Linked DNA regions of Homo sapiens: regions 1, 2 and 4 are each linked to region 3. Evidence: promoter capture Hi-C in 16 types of primary human blood cells and fetal thymus (Javierre and others, 2016). All regions are on one chromosome and are shown on one strand. The core of a region is centred on a gene start or on the middle of the fragment in contact, and the rest is flanking DNA. Distances in the headings are between cores, read along the strand shown.

Evidence for each region. The method cuts DNA at HindIII sites, captures the fragments that hold promoters and counts their contacts. A CHiCAGO score of 5 or more calls a contact.
Region 1: a fragment that was not itself captured here is called in contact with the fragment with the promoter of REST in region 3 in 1 of 17 cell types (activated CD4 T cells); the score reaches 6.4 in activated CD4 T cells.
Region 2: a contact is called between a fragment that was not itself captured here and the fragment with the promoter of REST in region 3, in 3 of 17 cell types (activated CD4 T cells, fetal thymus and non-activated CD4 T cells). The highest score is 6.4, in activated CD4 T cells.
Region 4: a fragment that was not itself captured here is called in contact with the fragment with the promoter of REST in region 3 in 5 of 17 cell types (fetal thymus, non-activated CD4 T cells, total CD4 T cells and 2 more); the score reaches 16.5 in fetal thymus.

What each region holds. Positions count from the first base shown.
Region 1 is chr4:52,655,472-52,658,558 of GRCh38, reverse strand. The region is part of intron 1 of USP46 (ubiquitin specific peptidase 46); the gene reads left to right. Among named protein-coding and RNA genes, the nearest start is that of USP46, 2.3 kb to the left of the region's middle. The HindIII fragment of the contact is 2,287 bases long and covers 554-2,840 here.
Region 2 is chr4:52,707,908-52,711,237 of GRCh38, reverse strand. No RefSeq gene overlaps it. Among named protein-coding and RNA genes, the nearest start is that of DANCR, 2.8 kb to the left of the region's middle. The HindIII fragment of the contact is 5,324 bases long and covers 1-3,330 here.
Region 3 is chr4:56,906,138-56,909,498 of GRCh38, reverse strand. REST (RE1 silencing transcription factor) reads right to left here and starts at 1,599. Exons shown (of 4, transcript NM_005612.5): 1 at 1,286-1,599. RefSeq lists enhancers at 1-282, 1,213-2,142 and silencers at 373-1,222, 1,333-1,722, 1,822-2,116. The HindIII fragment of the contact is 2,443 bases long and covers 1-2,054 here.
Region 4 is chr4:53,379,697-53,382,811 of GRCh38, reverse strand. It overlaps FIP1L1 (factor interacting with PAPOLA and CPSF1), which reads right to left. Exons shown (of 18, transcript NM_030917.4): 4 at 477-534. Among named protein-coding and RNA genes, the nearest start is that of FIP1L1, 3.6 kb to the right of the region's middle. The HindIII fragment of the contact is 210 bases long and covers 1,667-1,876 here.

The sequences.
Region 1 (3,087 bases), core at 448-2,947, 4.3 Mb after region 3:
AAAAGCACCGTAATTTGCTCCGCATGCCTCAGTTTCCCCATCTGTGAAAAAGGGACAAGGCTCTGTGGCGGTAATATTTGCAGGCCCTAAGGGTGGGGCGGGCTGTGGGCTTGGAGGAGGTCTCCAGGGTTATCCTGCCTGATCCGCTGTAGACCTAGGGGAGGCTGGCGGGCATGGATACAGCCAGGGACATCACTGGGTTCTGATGCAGTCCGAGCCCATGATGCGGTGGTCACTTTAATTTGGGTTTCCCCCATTGCTTTCCCTTTTTCTGTAGGAAGAACCTCCAGCCCTTGGGTCCCCAGGCTGGACCCTGCTGGCGCCTCCACTTGTCAGAGCCTTTGGGGAGCTCAGATTGGAGTAAGGCATTGCTGTCCCTTGCAGGGTGAGATGATGTGTGTTTTGCCTACATTCTTTAGACTGCACCCCGCCTCCCCTCTAGCCCCCTCCCAAGCGGGTCCCCGGAGGCAACACGTGCTCTTACAGTGCCAGTTTGAGGAAAACCTCCCTTGAAGCTAGTAATACTGGCCCCTAAAGGGAATCCAAGGAAGCTTGATGGAGAAGCCCTGGTGTAAGGTGATCTGGCTGCCCTTCCCCCATCACATAGCTTTTTAAATCTTCTGTCCCACATTCTGTTGCAAGATCAACACATGGCAAAGGAGCATTAAGAAGCCTTGTGTTAGCTCAGGGGTGGAATTGAGACCCGCTGGCTTCAGCTTTCAGCACAATGGGACGTGCCACTGTCACGGCCAGCAAAGCAAATGCTGGGGCCTCCCAGAGTGATAGCTGCACAGGTACTGGTTGGTGCCGGGCGAGTTCCATACGGGGAGTGGATCCTAGAGCCTTTCTGTTTTCTCTTTTTTTCCTTTCTCTGCGAGGAGTCAGATTTCCTCTTATTCCTGTGGAGGGGCTGCTTGTGAAGAGGTGATGCCTTCTCAGTTTCTCTCCTACGACCAGTTCCTGAGGGAACTGTGAATCGGGAGCAGCTTGAATACTCTTTTATGTCTGTTGGTGTGGCCGCAGGCCTAAGGATACTACAGGGTAGTGAGGCTCCGACCCAGCCCTTGGTGGTGTTCTTGTCCTGCTTGTGTGTGGTTACACCTCTCTGTGTAGAAGCAGGCTGGAAACTTGAGAGCTAGCATGCCCCTAGAGGAAGCCAGCCCCCAACCTCCCCCCACGCGTCCCCCCACCCACCCTCAGTGCTGCGGGGGCTTTCTGGCACACCTGGGCTGAATGTCACAACGTGTTTCAGTGAAACTCAGTCAGGGAGACAGGGTGTGGGGAGGACCTGAGAGGAGCAGGCCAATACTGCCCTGAGAGTTGACATCTCAGGTGGAGACCTAAAAAGGTACCAAATTTAGGACCATCACCCAGATGAAGTGAGGAACCAGTAATTCATTAAGTAAGGAGTCTGATGTTGTATTTAGACGCCATGTCTAGAGAGTGACAGAGTTTGGGTTCTAATGTCAGACTTCCTGGGTTCAGGTCCTGGTTCTTTTTTTTTTTTTTTTTTTTTTTGACAAGGTCTCACACTGTCACCCAGGCTGGAGTGCAGTGGCATGAACATGGTGGCTCACTGCAGCCTCCACTTCCCAGGCTCAAGTGATTCTCCCACCTCTGCCTTCTGAGTAGCTGGGACTACAGGCACGTGCCACCATGCCTGGCTAATTTTTAAATTTTCCATAGAGACTGGGTCTCCCTATGTTGCCCAGGCTGGTCCCTAATACCTGGGCTCAAGTGGTCCTCCCACCTCAGCCTCCCGAAGCGCCAAATTACTGCCGTGAGCCACCATACCCGGCAGGTCCTGGTTCTAACACATGTTGGCTTTGTGTCCTTGAACAAGTTGTCCGGTCTTAGACTTTCCTTATCTACCAAAAGGTGATGTTAATATTGTTGTATTACTCGGGCACAGGGCCTGGTACATGGCTAGAACTCAGTGAGTGTCATTGTCAACATCATCTTTCTCATTGTTATGTCATCTACCAGGTGTTTAAGGGACAGTGGAGATCATGCCATTTCAGACCTGGTGGAAGCAACCACTAATATAAACACCTCCCATGTATAGGAAGGCTGGAGTGGGAATCCTTAACCCCGCCCCCTGCTCAGGTCAATCCCCCACCCACCGCCCCCACTGTCCCTCCCAGTCTTCCTTCCCAGAGGAGAAGGCTGGGTATGAGGAAACTGCTGTCTTTTCACTGGATCAGACGTAAATATTAACTGGACCTCTCTTTAGATTCTTTGCTCAATAATGAATTGTTTTCAGGTAGGTGTCTTACAGGTCCCTTCTCACTGCTTAGCTCCTCTGTGGGCCTCTTACTGACCCTTCCCGCTCCTAACTTTGGTCCCAGCTGGTTTGAGTAGTTGTAGTAAGAGCAAATGGTGATTGCATTTTTTTCTTAAGCACATCGTTTAACATATTTTGAACAGGCTGATATGTGTTCAGAAAGGATATTAGAAGGTACCATTTTTCTGGGTAACAGGAAAAAACGAAGATCTATCATTGAAAGTGGATTTGTTTCCTCCACCAGATAAGAAAGGACCCAGCAGAGCAGAAATCAAATTTGTAGCAGATACTTCGTGTGATTGAGAACTAAACATCCCCTCTTTTCCCCATACTTCTTGTGCCAGTTTTAGTTATAGGAAACTTGGAAAATATCTTCATTCCTCCACTTACCCACCCACTTGCTGAAGTTTTATTGTTCACTGGAAGTTTAGTACTAGTTTCTATTTGTTTTAATTTTTCTTCCATGTGAATTCCTGCCATGGTAATTCTTGATGAACTTGCTCAGGGCAAGGCAGCTTGGCCACACAGCAGTGTGTGGTTCAGAGATAGTAAAGCTTGTTTGGCTGGTGTGTTGTAATTTTCATAATGCACTAGCTGCTACCAAGCATGAGGAAATGTCTTCTGTTGATAATCCTCTGATTTTTGTCCAGACCAATGGATTTAACTTCCTATATATTTTTATGGCCCTGCAAATGGAAAGTTTTTGTTTTTGGGTTTTTTAAGTTTCCTATTTGAAGAGCTTGAGAAATTTTCTAAAAAGGAAGCATTAGTTAGAAGAAACCAAATGTGACATACCAATGCAA
Region 2 (3,330 bases), core at 674-3,173, 4.2 Mb after region 3:
GCTCTGTTGCCCAGACTGGAGTATAGTGGCACGATCTTGGCTCACTGCAGCCTCCACCTCCCAAGTTCAAACTATTCTCGTCTCGGCCTCCCGGGTAGTTGGGATTACAGGCATGCACCACCATGCCTGGTTAATTTTTGTATTTGTGAAAGAGTTTATACTTTGTGCTAAGAATGATGGAAAGCTGTTCAAGTGTTTTGTTTGTTTGTTGTGTGTGTGTGTGTGTGTTTTAACAGGGGAATGATAGGATCTGATGTAGGGTGTGGTTTCGGGTGTGATTAAGGTGGTTTTGGTGGGAAGAAGAAGTTGAGTAAAATTTACCAATAAACCCTAGCACCTAGTCATCATCTTGCAGATATTCATAGGATCTTGTTGAAATTGGAGAGTGAATACCAGTTTGTTGTCCCTTCACCTTTCTCAAGAGTCTTCCAAACATATCTCTAGTTGGAATCTGTTCTTTTTATAGTCCCTTTGGATAGCTGAGAGATATTACCTTTCCTTTAACTATGGCAATGCATGTGGTCAGGCAACATGGGAAAATATAGGAAAAGAGAAGTAAATCTCCTTAGTAAAGAGACTAATGCAGGAATTCAGCAGCAACCTAGCAGGGGCTGGGGGTAGTTGTGCAGAATGTCTTCCCTCCTCCCCAAATCAGGGGATAAAAATGGGAAGGAATTATGAAAGAATTATATTTGTGTTTGATTTAAGAGAAATTCACCTTAATCTGAAGGCTTCACATTTCTGGCCAAATACCTCAATTCAATGAACTTACAAACAGTTCATTCGAAATAGTAAAACTGTTCACTGGGCTTAGAGGAGAAATGTCTATTAAATACAGAGACAATAGAACAAAATAAACTGATTTATAATTGCTTTTGAGTTAGGTTCAAGATAATATATATTTGGTACTAAAAATCCTTATAATGCAGTTTAAAGAGAATTGTTTCAATTGGGTTTATTATTAGGCCTAATTTTTTTAGAGAAATTAGTATGTCTAATCAATCCTTCTTTCTTTCTTTTCTTTCTTTCTTTTCTTTCCCTCCCTCCCTCCCTTCCTTCCTTTTCTTTTCTCTCTCTCTCTCTTTCTTGCTCTCTCTCTCGTCTCTCTCCCTCTCCCTTTCTTTTCCCTTTGACAGGGTCTTACTCTATCACTCAGGCTAGAGTGCAGTGGCACAATCATAGCTCACGGGTCAGGCTCCAACTCCTAGGCTTAAGTGATCCTCCCACCTCAGCCTCCCAAAGCATTGGCATTACAGATGTGAGCCACCACGACTGGCCAATCTGTCCAATTTGAGGGAGTTCAGTCTCTCCAAATTTAATCTGTCGGAAGTTGAATAAAGGGACCTAGAAGAATACCCACCAGCCCTCCAGATATTCTCAGCTGGATTTCCCAGAGACACCACAAAATCACTCTTTTGGCCCAGAATTTATTCTCTTCTTCCACCCCTCCACTTCCTTTTTGTGTCCTCTGTCTTGAAGAATAACAATTCCTTAGCCCAGCTGTCCAGGACTTAGCGCAAATGCTTTCCTTTCTCAGTCTCCTCCTCCATTTCTCAGCCTCCTACTTCCTCATCTTCTTCCATGCGGGCAGTTCTTCCTATTGACCACCATGACTCTGCCTCTTCTTTCCAGCCCTTGCTTGTACTTTAGTTCTAGCTCCATCATTTACTTTCAGCATCATCCACTGCAGTAGCCTCCACCTTCATTCAGCTTCCCTGTCTCCAGTGTTCCCTTCCCCATGAATTCTTCCACACTGCTGTCATCTCCATTGGAAATTGTTAAATGGCTCTTTACTGCCACCAGAAACAAAACCAACCTCCACCTATCTACTTCCTCCTCTCACTTCCCACATACCTATTATAATCCAACCATGCTGAACTAATGGCAGTCCCCTGAATGCTGTCCAGCACTCTCCCATACAACTTTCTGCAGTGATGGAAATGTTCTATATCTCTGCTGTCCAGTATGGTAGCCACATGTGGCTATTGAGTACTTGAAATGTGACTAGCACAACACAAGACCTGGATCTTAAACTTCATTTACTTTTAACTAATTTAAATTTAAATAGTCATGCTGGGCCTGGTGGTGGTATGCCTATAATCCCAGCTACGTGGGCAGAAGTCTGAGGTGGGAGGATCCCTTGAGGCCAGAAGTTTGAGGTTGCAGTGTGCTCAGACAGTGCCTGTGAATAGCCACTGCACTCCAGCTGCCGCAATATAGCAAGACTCCATCTCTACAGAAAAAAAAAATTAGCCAAGCATGGCAGAACAGGCCTGTAGTCCCAGCTACTCAGGCAGCTGAGGCAAGAGGATCACTTGAGCTCAGGATTCAAGGCTGCAGTGACCTATGATGGCACTACAGCACTCCAGACTGGGTGACAGAGCAAGACATCTAAGATAAATAAATAGATAAAAATAAAAGTCACATGTGGCTGGTAGATACTACATTGAACTGCACAATAGTTTACATCCTTGCTTCTCAAAGCGTGGTCCATCAGCCTGGGCATTCCCTGGAAACTTGTAGTAATGCATAATCTCAGGCCTCATCCCAGATCTGCTGATTCGGAATCTATATTTCAACAAGATCCCCAGGTGATCTGTATGCACATTAAAGTTTCAAGAGCCACAGCTCTAATAAGCTCTTGCTTCCTTGCCTTTGCATGTGGTGTTCTCTTCGTCTGGGCTGCCTGTCACCTGTTCTTTTTTCCTTAACTCCTACTTATCCCTAGACCTATCTACACTCACAACCTGCTGTTAATATGGTAATCCAGAGGGTAGGGGATGAAGGATATGGGGGAGAGGAGTGAGAGGGAAGGAGAAAATATCTATGATAAAACCACTTGTATCTTGTAATCTTAAATAACTATATGTATGTAGCTATATAATATAAATACATACATACTATGTATATATTTATAGTATAGTATGTATATATGTATAGTATTCTATGTATATACATGTACAAGTATAGTTTGTGTGTGTGTGTGTGTGTGTGTGTGTGAAAATATGGTTACTACAATGTCAGTGGTATTTCTCTCAAGGTGATGGGATTTCATGTGTCTTACTTTCTAAAAATATTTTTGAGGTATCATTCAAATTCTTTACAAAGAGCATGTATTACTGATATAATAATTTTCATTACAGAAAACAAAATAAGGGCTATATTAGCCTTTTGTAAGTAACTTCAAGAACACGATATCGGAATAAAGTATAGCGTTTTACAAAAAAGGAGAGCCCCCACCTTCCACAGTTAGAGACACTCCCTTGTCTACAACACAAGAGCGGGCAGTAGGCATGGCATAGGCAACAACCAACCTGAAAGCAGAAGAAT
Region 3 (3,361 bases), core at 350-2,849:
CCCAACATCGACTTTTCTAATTGCTCCCTAACCCCTAACTGCCACCCCAAATGGAATTTTAACGATTGTTAGGAAGACCGTCCAGGCACAGCCCGAAAGCCCAACGTGCTGCACGAATTCCTCCGTGCTGCTGCCACCAGCGCCTGCCTCGGCGGCGGCATTCCTAACTGAAATAGGCATTCGGCCATTTTCTCAAAATACCAAACACAAAGCAGCTCTTTGCAAACTCGGGCGCTCTCGCTTCCTCTCGCCTCGGCCCGCTCACTGCACACATTTACACACCAACTCGCGGGAGTCGCCCCGACACTCGTCCTGAGCCTTTTCCTGCGCTCTCCAACACTAAAACGGGGGAGGGGATCAAGCTCGAGGCGCTGTTTGGCCGGAACCAGTCCTCCCCGAGTCCAGGCAGCCCCCTCCCCAGCCCTAGGGCCCCCGTCCCGGGAGAGGACGGAAAGTTACCGCGCAGCCGGCGTCCGGGCTTCTCCGACCGCCCCCGGGCCCCTCCGACCGCCCCGGGGCTCGCCCAACGCCCAGGGCCGGGGAGGCTCCGCGGGCGCCCTCGCGAGGCGTCGGGCTCCGAGCGCCGGAGGGGGCCCCCACACGGGCCAGCCGCCACCCCCGCGCCCCGGAAGTTTGCGAACTTCACTCCCCCACGGCGCCCGGCAGGACGCGCGCCCCAGCCCCGCCAGCTCCAGCGGTCGGGTGGCCGGACGCGGGGGCCAGCGGCGCCGGACGGCTGAAGCGCAGAAATCGCTGTCCAGCCCCGCAGGCGGAACCGCCCGGGCCCCGGGGCTGACTCAACCCGCCCGGCCGCACTCAACGGCGCCTTCCGGCGACAGGGAGAGGCCCTGGGGGAGGGGGCCAGGAGGGCCGCGGGCCGGCGCGGGGCTGCGGTGGGACCCGGGGGCAGGAGGAGGAAGCAGAGGAAGTTTCAGGACTACGGGCCCGAGCAGCTCCGCTCCTTGGCCTCAAAGGACCTGACTCGGTGGAGCGTCCGGGCCAGCGCGGAGGCGGCGTCCCAGCCTCCAGTGGGGAGGGGGTCCAGGCGACGCGCTGCTCCCAACAAACGCCCCCAGCCCCCGGGCGGCTGCTGTGTAACCCGATCCTGCTCGGCCGCCAGCCCCCGCCCGGCGGGGCCGCCGCCGCCGGAGCCACAGTATCTGCAAATCAGCCCTGGACAGCGCCTGACTCCGCGTCCTTCCGCGCCCTCCCCGTCCCGCCACTGCCGCCGCCCGGGCGGCCCTCCCCCACCCTGACCGAGCCCCCAGCCCAGCGCCCCACTTACCGGCCTTCCTCGGTGAGGAGGGGCGGGCGACCCTGAGTCGCCGCTCCTTCTCCGACTACTTTTCTTTGTTGCTGGAGTTTCGGGGGAGAGGTGGGGGAGGGTGGTAAAGTTGGGTGCTGGGGCCGTCGTGGACCAAGAAGGCCCAGGAGTGGGGCTGCAGAGGGTGCTCAGGCCTCCGGGCCTCGCCCTGCCGTCTCGGCTGCGGCAGCCGCCGCCAGGGTCTGGGGCCCCGGGCCTCGGCGGCGCTCGCTCCGCTGCTGCGCCGCGAGCTCGCGGCAGCCGCACATTCCAACACAGGACGCTGCGCCGCGCACCCAGTCCGCGCCGCCGCCGCCGCCACCGCCCGCGGGACACGCCCCCTCCGACGCCCGCGCGCGCCCGCGAGACACGCCCCCTCCGACGCCCGCGCGCGTGGCCGCTAGGCGCGCCCCGCCCCTCTACCAAGCAAGGAGTGCCCCAGTCTCCAGCTCGCCTGGGGGCGCGTCTAGGGGGAGCCGCCCGTAATCCTCCCGGCCCCTCACTCCTGCCCTTAGGTCAGAAAAGAGGCGGGCCCCACTCCCTTTCTCGATTTCTATTACAAACAAACAACAAAAGTTCCCCCCAGCCCTGGCGTGCATGCATGAGAATAGAGCTGTTAAAAGAAGAATCCGCAGGCTTTGACGGGTCTCTTTAGAGCTATTGTCACCGGCCTCTCAAGTCTAAAGCGCTCCAAGATACCCTTCAGATCTCTTCAAGTCTCCACCCATAGCTGTCCTTGACTAATTAAGCTTCGTTTTAAGCGTCTGCGGTAAAAAAAAAAAAAAAAAAAAAAAGTCTTCCAAATTTCAAACTACCGGAGGGGGAATGCAGTCAGTTTGGGAGAAGTGAGAAGAAAACGTTTCAGGAAGGAGGTTATGGACTCAGAAAGCGTGAGCGTGAGGACTGAGGGGACAGATCCCTAGACGTGGCAGGTAGCAGGTCATTGCTGAGCCCGGAAAGCACGACTGCAGGGGAGGAATTACCCTCAGATGACAGAAGAAAAGGTGGTGAGGACGGGGAGGCTGCCTGGGGCCACGGTGTGTCGGAGTAACCGGGCTCACGTCTATGAAGCGGGATAACCAAGCGGAATGCCTAGCCCATAGTCATGTGCTAACAAAAACAAAAACAACAAAAAAGAACAGAGAGAGAGTAATTCCACCCCCTTTCACACCTGAAAGAGCTTCTCAGTCTGCCTTTGATACCTTCCTAAACGTCAGTCGTAAGTCACACCTGTCCTCAGAAGCATAGTGGCTCCCCATGACTACAAGCTTAAAGCTTAAACCCCTTAGTGTGGCGTTCAAGCCCCTACTTAACTTGACCTAGATAAGTCTGACTATTGCTTGGTATTACAACATAAGTAGCAAGTGCTATGGGGGTTTGCCAGTAGGAAGATGGATCCCAAGAGGTTCTAGAAACTTTTCACAGTAGATGTATTCAGTCTGACCTTGGAGAATGAGGAAAACTTCAACAGGTGGAAAGTAGGGCAAGGAACACTCTACACAGTGAAAAGGGCAAGCTCAAAATCCCAAAGCAGTTGTTAAGACATCCCAGCTTCTCCTCAGGGTACCTCACTTCCTTCTCTTTGAAGTTCCTTTATTTGTTTCTCTTAGGGCAGGGCTTCCAGACTCTTCATTTCCTGGTATACCCACGTAGGACCTCTGTTTCCCTCTATCTGGACAATATATTACTAATTAATGCAGTCTCCGATGCAAGATGAAATGAAGACCCTAAGGTGCTCGACCACCAAAAGTTTCAATGAGGCAATTTCAAATGTAACACCTCTCCATGAATCAAACCTGAAAAGTATTCATTTTCATTGAACCAAAGAGACAGGAAGGAAGGGAGGGAGGGAGGGAGGAAAGGAAGATCGACATTTTTAGGACTGGTACAAACTTTTCTATATATATTTTATTTGTTTAACTAAAATCAAGTTTGAGGTCACATGGCTTTTTTAGATGCTGTAGCCCAGGGTACAATTCAGGCCTCTACCAAGGTTGTCAAAGACATAAACTTGTTTTCTTTCCCTTTTTTAGGTCCAAAAAGGCAAAAATGAAATGT
Region 4 (3,115 bases), core at 522-3,021, 3.5 Mb after region 3:
CGGAACAATAACTTCCTTCCTTTTATAGGATTAAAATGCACAAATATTCATAGGACCAATGATATGTTCACCTCACAAAGTATCAATGGCATGCAGGCATGCAGTCAGGGACTGTCACATACATTAAAAAGCAACGTTAAAAAATCGTAACAGTGAAAGGTTGTGGGCTCAAAACTTGCTCTGAAAACCAGGCTCACTATATTCAGTAGATTTATAACCATTCAATTCCTTGAAAGCAATAAACATCAAGCCTTTGCACATACTATTTTCCTCTGCAGTCTTTCTACTATTTCTTTTCCTCATTTTAATTCCTATATATGTTTTTGATGGCACCAGATGAAGTAGGAGATGTAAGAAAGGGCCAGATAACACCTGATACTGAAGGTAATGTAAAATGCCAGCTTGCTTTCTATGTAAACTGTGAAGCTATTGATAAAGATTTGTATCAGTAACTGGATTTCAAAGCCTTATGTTACCGGTTTTGGTACACCATTTTCAGCAGTTTCATCTTCAATTCCAGATGGAGGATTAGCACTACAAACAACAAAAGTAAGTATACATGTCAGGCATTACTTTTCGGAAGTACAGATAGATTATATTAGTATTTCTAAGCTTTAATAAAGCTCCTAAAATTATTGTCTCCACTGGAGACAGTAATGGTAAAATCTGACTGTCTTATTCCGTTATTTCTAGTAACTTGCAGAAGACAAGTACTCAACATTGTAAGTAGAATGCAAATGCCAGGCTGGGCGTGGAGGCTCATGCCTGTAATCCCAGCACTTTGAGAGGCTGAGGTGGGTGGATCACGAGGTCAGGAATTCAAGACCAGCCTGGCCAAGATGGTAAAACCCCGTCTCTACTAAAAATACAAAAAAAAAAAAATTAGCCAGGCATGGTGGCGGGCACCTGTAATCCCAGCTACTCGGAAGGCTGAAGCAGACAATTGCTTGAACCCAGGAGATAGAGGTTGCAGTGAGGCTGCAGTGATCATGCCACTGCACTCTAGCCTGGGCGACAGCGTGAGATGCTGTCTCAAAAAAAAAAAAAAAAAAAAAAAAGAATGCAAATGCCTTCACAGTTTATTAATGATTTATAATTTGATGGTGGGCTATAATTCAAGCTTTTTACACATTTTAAAAATATATGACAAACTTAATCAATTTTAATTATCCTAAATCAATTTGATCTTTACAGTGGCATTTTATAGCACAATCACCAAATAAAGCAAAATGAAAGATAAAAAGTCAAAACATAACTGTTATATTTTCATTGTTCTACTGCTTGCTTCAAGAAAACAAATATGCAGCTATAATTGTTCAGTACATTTACCTCCTGCTGAAATAAGCTTCTAGGTAGCCAGAAGCAAGTCCCATTTGCTTTCTACGTCACAAAACAGTATCCCTTCTTTAGTCAAAACTTGGATAGATATAACACAATTGGAGACTGCAATGCAATGTTTAAGAAAAACAGAGGCTTCAGCAATGAGCCAGTCAGTAGGAAACGGGCAAATTCTAATAGCAGGAACTTTGGTAGAGCAATGCAATGATGTACCAAGCCAGATAGCAGTAGGTCTGGCAGAGTACCTTTCTTCAATAGGCCTACTCTTTTGGAAGTTTTAATTTTCTATCACCATTAAAATGTTAGAAACATGATAAAATTTTAAGCTTTTTCTAGAAAAATAACACTGTAAAGGAAATTGTTTTTTCCCCCATAGGATGAAATCAACTCAACGGCTCCCCAAATGAAGTTGCAGAAAGGAATATAAAGCTATGTTGACAGTGACACTCAGGGAAGGTAGAAGGTTCCCTCCAATAAATTTTAGCAAGTTGTGTATTGCGGAATTAAAATTAAAGAATGTTTGATTAGAAAGTAAGCTTTTAAAATTGTAACCAATAAAAATAAAAATTAATGGGATAAAGATTATCATATAGAAAAGTATATTTGATTGTAAAACTATACCTGTAATTAATTTCTTGACCAACTGAAGGAATGGGTACAAAGAAATATTCAATCACTTTCATAACATAAACTAAAACTAATCTCAACTTTGTGGTTGAGATCAGAATTAGGAACTGAGTTGAATATATAAATTTTAAAATGAAATAACATTTCAGATAATATACCAATGAGTGAAAAGACTATAGGGGATTTTTTGGGTAAGGAAGCTGAACTGTAGTTTCAGCTCCTCCTAAGCTATTTCTACTTCCATTTCTCACTTTTTCCCTCTATCCATTTTTTGTTGTAACAGCTTTGAGATGCAATTCACATATTATACAATCTACCCATTCAAACAGGACAACTGAGTTTTAATATGGTCACATAGTCCAACCATCACAACTATCTAATTCCAGAATGTATGCATCACTCCCAAAAGGAACTTTGTATACATTAGCAATCACTCACCCAACTCTTAGTAACCACTAATCTGTCTCTACGGACTGACATCTTTAGCTTCCACATTTGTAAGGTTCATCCGTGTTGTAACATCTACCAGTACTTCATTTTATTGTCCTTGCCAAATAATATTCCGCTGTATGGATATAACACATTTAATCTATCCATTCATCAGTTGATGCAGCTGCGAGGTTTTCTTTTTCCACTTTCTATTAAGAATAATGCTGCTATGAATATTCACGTACAAGTTTTTGTCTGAATATGTTTTCATTCCTCTAAGGTGGAGGACTCACATGGTAACTCCATGTTTCACCATTTGAGAAAATGGCCAGGCTGTTCTTCAAAGCAGCTGCACCATTTTACAATCCCACCAGAAGTGTATGAGGGTTTTATTTCCCCATATCCTCACTAACACCTGTTTTATCTTTTCGATTGCAGCTTACTCGGTATGAAGTTGTATATCTTCCACTTTTTAAACCCAAATATTCCTTAAAATCTTCTAACTACCTCTCCCTCCATTACAGACACTAATGCATGTGGTCAGGGTAAAGCCGACATCTCCATGTACTTCTTTACATGGCTTGCTTTTTGAAATCTGGGGTAAAATTCTGACTCCCTGTATATGTTCTATAAATGAACACTTACATCTTTCTTACAATCTAACAAAGAAATCAACCTTATAACAAATCAGCTAATTACATTTTGAATGCAAACAATACAT